2 separate regions of the Homo sapiens genome follow, and region 2 is linked to region 1. Evidence: promoter capture Hi-C in 16 types of primary human blood cells and fetal thymus (Javierre and others, 2016). All regions are on one chromosome and are shown on one strand. The core of a region is centred on a gene start or on the middle of the fragment in contact, and the rest is flanking DNA. Distances in the headings are between cores, read along the strand shown.

What was found. The method cuts DNA at HindIII sites, captures the fragments that hold promoters and counts their contacts. A CHiCAGO score of 5 or more calls a contact.
Region 2: a fragment that was not itself captured here is called in contact with the fragment with the promoter of ALG14 in region 1 in 3 of 17 cell types (activated CD4 T cells, naive CD8 T cells and total CD8 T cells); the score reaches 8.6 in activated CD4 T cells.

The regions. Positions count from the first base shown.
Region 1 is chr1:95,071,201-95,074,421 of GRCh38, forward strand. It overlaps ALG14 (ALG14 UDP-N-acetylglucosaminyltransferase subunit), which reads right to left and starts at 1,751. Exons shown (of 4, transcript NM_144988.4): 1 at 1,563-1,751. The coding sequence starts at 1,698. RefSeq lists enhancers at 1,193-1,272, 1,513-1,872. The HindIII fragment of the contact is 2,572 bases long and covers 1-2,089 here.
Region 2 is chr1:93,909,671-93,912,902 of GRCh38, forward strand. LOC124904221 (a long non-coding RNA gene) reads left to right here. Exons shown (of 2, transcript XR_007066230.1): 1 at 1-484. Among named protein-coding and RNA genes, the nearest start is that of GCLM, 1.9 kb to the left of the region's middle. RefSeq lists a silencer at 1-83 and an enhancer at 124-283. The HindIII fragment of the contact is 2,924 bases long and covers 499-3,232 here.

The DNA of each region.
Region 1 (3,221 bases), core at 501-3,000:
GGTCTTAACCCCTACATGATATCAACAGTGGAGTAGCAGCAATTGCTTTATAAAGCAGGATTTTAGGCCAGGGGTGGCTCACGTCTGCAACCCCAGCACTTTGGGATGCTGAGGCAGGAGGATCACTTGAGGTCGGAAGTTCAAGACCAGCCTTGGTCAACATGGTGAAACACTGTCTGTACTAAAAATACAAAAATTAGCTGAGTGTGGTGGTGCGCCTGTAATCCCAGCTACTCGGGAGGCTGAGGCAGGAGAATGGCTTGAATTTGGGAGGTGGAGTTGCAGTGAGCTGAGACTGCGCCACTGCCCTCCAGCCTGGGCAACAGCGTGAGACTCTGTATAAAAAAGAAAAAAAGCAAGATTTTAAATACTCTTTACAATCTGGACTCAGTTTACCTCCCTACATTGAACTCTACACGATAGTGTTCTCTCAACTCTGGTCATTCCAAGTGTTATCACCTTCTTTTCACATCCTCCCAGCCCTCGAAACCCTGGCTGTCCCTCATCTGACTAATTCTGGGTCATCTTTCAAGTTTCAGTTTAGCATCATTTCTTCCAGGAAGCTGTCTGTTTTTTAAGACCTGATAAAGTAGTGCCCTTCCTGAAGACTGCCATAGCAATTTGTACTTCTTACACAATTATTACAAGATTATAGCATTTATCTCATTGTGGCAAATACTCATTTTGATTTATTTTCTGTTAGTTTTTTTGTATTCTCTATTTCATTTACTGCTGTATCTTTGCATCTCTCACAGGACTTAGCACGGAGTCAGCACTCCGTGGCAAGTAATGTTAGTCAGTTTTGTTATTTCCAGAGGTTAGTTTAGTGTTTGGTCTTTCTAACAGCTCAAAACAGATTAAGTGAATAAAGTAATGCGTTATACTTGAACATAAACTTAGTACATTTACTCATACTATACATGTTCTATCTGGATGCAATCTCCTGCCATACCCAAATGTTTACATTGTGTCTGTGTGTGTCTGTCTGTCCCTGTCAAATATGTGTATTTAAAATTGTAAGCACCTACAGAGTTGGTGGATTTAGATTGTATTACCTGACAGGTCAGTGTGTTGCTCACACTCTGCCACCGCGTGTGTATTGTTCTACAGCCCGTAGATCATTGTTTTTATCCTCTTGGACTTTGTATATTTATAAATGTGACAATTCATTTTGCCTCATTTGTCATGTAGCATTCGTGTTTCCTAAACTAAATACGCAATACCTAGATTAATAATGCACAACAGCCATACGGGGAAACTGCATGTTTGCATCAAAAGGCTTCTACGTTCTCTGTTCACTAATTGTTTGAAAAATATACGCTACAGAGAGTCTTAATTATAGACAAGTGTAAATTACTTGTCATAAAAAAAACCTCTGGGCCGCGTCAGCAAACCAGCCCCTACCCTGGCTGGACTGCCCGGTTCCGGCAAGGCAGAGAAACTACAAATCTCTGCATGCAACACTCCAAGAAGTGCTAAGGGTACCAGGGAAGAGCGTCGCGGTGCACTCTGGGGTTTGTAGTGACCAACCCAAGTCCGACAGTCGCCTCCTCGATACTTACCGGACCCAGCCACTACCAAGATACTGAGAGACTCCCGGGGCGTAACGTCCATGGAACGAAGCACTACCCATATTCGCAGGATTAGGAAAACCGCCACAGCTCCTGCGGCCGCAGCTAGAACGAGAACGCACACCATGCAGAGAAACGGCGCATGCGTCCAACTTCCGGGGACCAGCCGCTGTCAAAGTTCACAACTACGGGTGCCGAAGCGACTCAAACGCGGAGGACGCACGTCTTGGTGGGCTGGTCTTTCCTGAGCTGGGAGGAGTGGAGGCGACGGAGAAGCTGAGGTCCCAGTCACAATCCATTTTACCTCATTTATCATGTAGTATTCGTGTTTCCTAAACTAAATACGCAATACCTAGATTAATAATGCACAACAGCCATACAGGGAAACTGCATATTAGCGTTAAAAGGTTTCTACGTTCTGTACGTTCACGTTTGTCAGCGGAACCCCTGCTTCTGCGCGGATTGTGCGCAGCTGCAGCCAAGCGTAAGCTGAAAATTGTAAAGTTAAGCGCTGGGGAAGCTTGATTTACGCCCACGACGAGGTCAGGCAGTCTCTGCGCCCTAAAGGTCCCGAAACTCCCCAGTTAGGAGGTGTTCTGGCTCTGTCAACTTCGTGAATGCCACCTGAAGCTAAGGGAATACATCCTTTCTTTCTTTCTTTTTTTTTTTTTAATGCCAAGAGAAATGTTTCTGTTGCACACAGACATTACTGAAAGTGTTCGCCAGTAAGGACCCTAGGCTTAAACATCGAATTTAGGGCCCTCATCCAAACCCCCTGTCTCCCAACATGTATGTTTTTAACTTTTCTCGAGGTTTTCACAGCTCTCAGTGTGACCAGAGTAGTTGAGGGTGACCACCTAAAGGTAAGCCACACTCCTAAGAGGATTGCAAAGCTCAGTGGCTCTAGGTAGCAGGATAGACAAGGCACAGTCCTACAATTAATATTCAGTTAATTTTATCACAAAGCATTTCCAGTGTGTTTCTCATGTCCTCAGCCAAAATGATGATCTGCCAACACCCCCTTCAATCTCAATTTTGCTTATGTCTAATTAATTAATTGTTAATAAATTAATTATGTCTAATTAATCCACATTACGACAACATAAAATACTAAGATCAGGAGCCCCTTCACCCCAAATATAATTTGCCTTCGGTCCACCATAGACCTACCTGTAGGTTATATTGAACAGGTATACAGATGAGTAAAAAGGTTCAGAAAGGTGCAACTGCTTGCCCAAGTGGAATAGCGTCAGATCTAGAATCAGAAACCAGAAATCTGAGTCCTGCTGGACAGGAGTACTGCATCCTGTATTCCTTTGCTAAATTCAAACTTGCCTGATCACCACACTTACCTGGAGCCTAGAATGTGTTATTAAAGGTGCAGACTCCCAGGGTCCATTAGGAAACACTGAATCAGAATTTCCGGGGATCGGGCACCTGGGATTAGCTTATGTAACCAGCGTGTCCATTCCTATCAGCAAGCAAGTTTGGGAGACTTTGTGAGTAGAGTCCGTGGACCTTACAACACTTTCCAAATTGTCTTCCATCAAATCTTCTTTCTTTTCTTTTCTTTTCTTTTTTTTTTTTTTTGAGACAGAGTCTCACTCTGTCGCTTGGCTGGAGTGCAGTGGCACAATCTTGGCTCACTGC
Region 2 (3,232 bases), core at 711-3,210, 1.2 Mb before region 1:
CCTGGCGGTCAGAGGACAGCGCGAGGCAGACACCGCCTCCGCCTGGTGAGGTAGACACCGCCTCCGCCTGGTGAGGTCTCCCGGCGTTCAGGTCGCGGCTCCGCCCACGGCCGCCCCAGGGTGGGCTTCCTACACGTCTCTTTAAAGGGCAGCCTGAGCGGCCACCGGGACTCGGAAATGCTACGTAGTTTTCGTTCTCAGAAGCAGCTGTTTATGCGCAAGCGCCCCCTTCTTCTTTTCGCTTTGCTACCTTCAAGGACCTTCTCCCAAACTGCTAATTTTTCTTCATCCGTTAAAGGTCTATTGATTCACATTATTTGCTGGCAGTGTGTGAAGTCAACGAACAAGACTGAGTCTTTGCCCTTGAGACGCGTACACTCTACCCAGAGACAAGTTCTAAGCACAGGAAACAAGTAATTTTATAAGAACATCATAGGGCAGTTATTCTCCAGATGAATTCAGATTAAAGAGGACACTTGAGCCGGTGAGATCACAGAAAGCTTTTATCACCCACCCCTTTAGAGGTGGTCGAGATTATTTACCCCTATTAAATTTCACGTGTGGTGGTGGACTCGGTATAAACATCAAATTGAACATGTATTGAGCTTTCCTCAACAATCTTTCACATTCGTTGAGGTGAATCAGATTATTAAAGGCAAAATGAGATTCTCATTATAAGCGGGGACAATATAGCTATTGAAAAGAGAGATGAACCAGTTGGTAAAATGGTAAGAATTAGGGGAGGGATGGGAAAAAAGATCTTTCTAGGAAGTTAGAAATTGAGCCTGATGTTGAGTAAATATTTGTTGGCTGAATGAATGATGGTAAGAGTTCATTGAACGAGCTTGCGCTGCTTTTTTTTTTTTTTTTTGGATATTGATTTTTTATTATAGTGAAAGAGCTACCCACAAGCACCACCACTACTTAAACACATTTTGATGCACTGTAACATACAATTAACATTTGTTGTAAATAATTCCAACATATACAAAAATAGCAAGAATACTATAATGAAACCCGATATAACTATCTTCTGAACTCAAGATTGAATAAGATTTGTCTATACTTTTTGTTTTATAATACTTTAAGTTCTAGGGTACATGTGCACAATGTGCAGGTTTGTTACATATGTATACAAGTGCCATGTTGGTTTGCTGCACCCATTAATTCGTTATTTACATTAGGTATTTCTCCTAATGCTATCCCTCCGCCAACCCCCCACCCCATGACAGGCCCCAGTGTGTGATGTTTCCCACCCTGTGTCCAAGTGTTCTCATGGTTCAATTCCCACCTATGAGTGAGAACATGCAGCGTTTGGTTTTCTGTCCTTGCGACAATTTGCTCAGAATGATGGTTTCCAGCTTCATCCATTCCCTACAAAGGACATGAACTCATCCTTTTTGATGGCTGCATAGTATTCCATGGTGTGTATGTGCCACATTTTCTTAATCCAGTCTATCATTGATGGACATTTGGGTTGGTTCCAAGTCTTTGCTATTGTGAATAGTGCCAAAATAAACATACCTGTGCATGTGTCTTTATAGTAGCATGATTTATAATCCTTTGGGTATATACCCAGTAATGAGATCGCTAGGTCAAATGGTATTTCTAGTTCTAGGCCCTTGAGGAGTCACCACACTGTCTTCCACAATGTTGAACTAGTTTACACTACCACTGACAGTGTAAAAGTGTTCCTAGTTCTCCACATCCTCTCCAGCACCTGTTGTTTCCTGACTTTTTAATGATTGCCATTCTAACTGGTGTGAGATGGTATCTCATTATGGTTTTGATTTGCATTTCTCTGATGACCAGTGATGATAAGCATTTTTTCATGTGTCTGTTGGCTGCATAAATGTCTTCTTTTGAAAAGTGTCTGTTCATATACTTTGCCCACTTTTTGATGGGGTTGTTTGATTTTTTCTTGTAAATTTAAGTTCTTTGTAGATTCTGGATATTAGCCCTTTGTCAGATGGGTAGATTGCAAAAATTTTCTCCCATTCTGTAGGTTGCCTGTTCACTCTGATGGTAGTTTCTTTTGCTGTGCAGAAGCTCTTTAGTTTAATTAGATCCCATTTGTCTATTTTGGCTTTTGTTGCCATTGCTTTTGGTGTTTTAGTCATGAAGTCCTTGCCCATGCCTATGTCCTGAGTGGTATTTCCTAGGTTTTCTTCTAGGGTTTTTATGGTTTTAGGTATAACATTTAAGTCTTTAATCCATCTTGAATTAATTTTTGTATAAGGTGTAAGGAAGGGATCCAGTTTCAGCTTTCTACATATGGCTAGCCAATTTCCCCAGCACCATTTATTAAATAGGGAATCCTTTCCCCATTTCTTGTTTTTGTCAGGTTTGTCAAAGATCAGATGGTTGTAGATGTGTGGTGTTATTTCTGAGGCCTCTATTCTGTTCCATTGGTCTGTATCTCTCTTTTGTACCATGCTGTTTTGGTTACTGTAGCCTTGTAGTATGGTTTGAAGTCAGGTAGCATGATGCCTCCAGCTTTGTTCTTTTTGCTTAGGATTGTCTTGGCAATGCAGGCTCTTTTTTGGTTCCATATGAACTTTAAAGTAGTTTTTTCCCATTCTGTGAAGAAAGTCATTGGTAGCTTGATGGGGATGGCATTGAATCTATAAATTACCTTGGGCAGTATGGCCATTTTCACACTATTGTTTCTTCCTATCCATGAGCATGGAATGTTCTTCCGTTTGTTTGTGTCCTCTTTTATTTTGTTGAGCAGTGGTTTGTAGTTCTCCTTGAAGAGGTCCGTCTCATCCCTTGTAAGATGGATTCCTAGGTATTTTATTCTTTTCAAAGCAATTGTGAATGGCAGTTCTCTCATGATTTGGCTCTCTGTTTGTCTGTTATTGGTGTAGAGGAATGCTTGTGATTTTTGCACATTGAATTTGTATCCTGAGACTTTGCTGAAGTTGCTTATCAGCTTAAGGAGATTTTGGGCTGAGATGATGGGGTTTTCTAAATATACAATCATGTCATCTGCAAACAGGGACAATTTGACTTCCTCTTTTCCTATCTGAATACCCTTTATTTCTTTCTCTTGCCTGATTGCCCTGGCCAGAACTTCCAACACTATGTGGAATAGGAGTGTTGAGAGAGGGCATCCCTGTCTTGTGCCAGTTTTCAAAGGGAATGCTTCCAGTTTTTGCCCATTCAGTATGATATTGGCTGTGGGTTTGTCATAAATAGCTCTTATTATTTTGAGATACATTCCACGAAT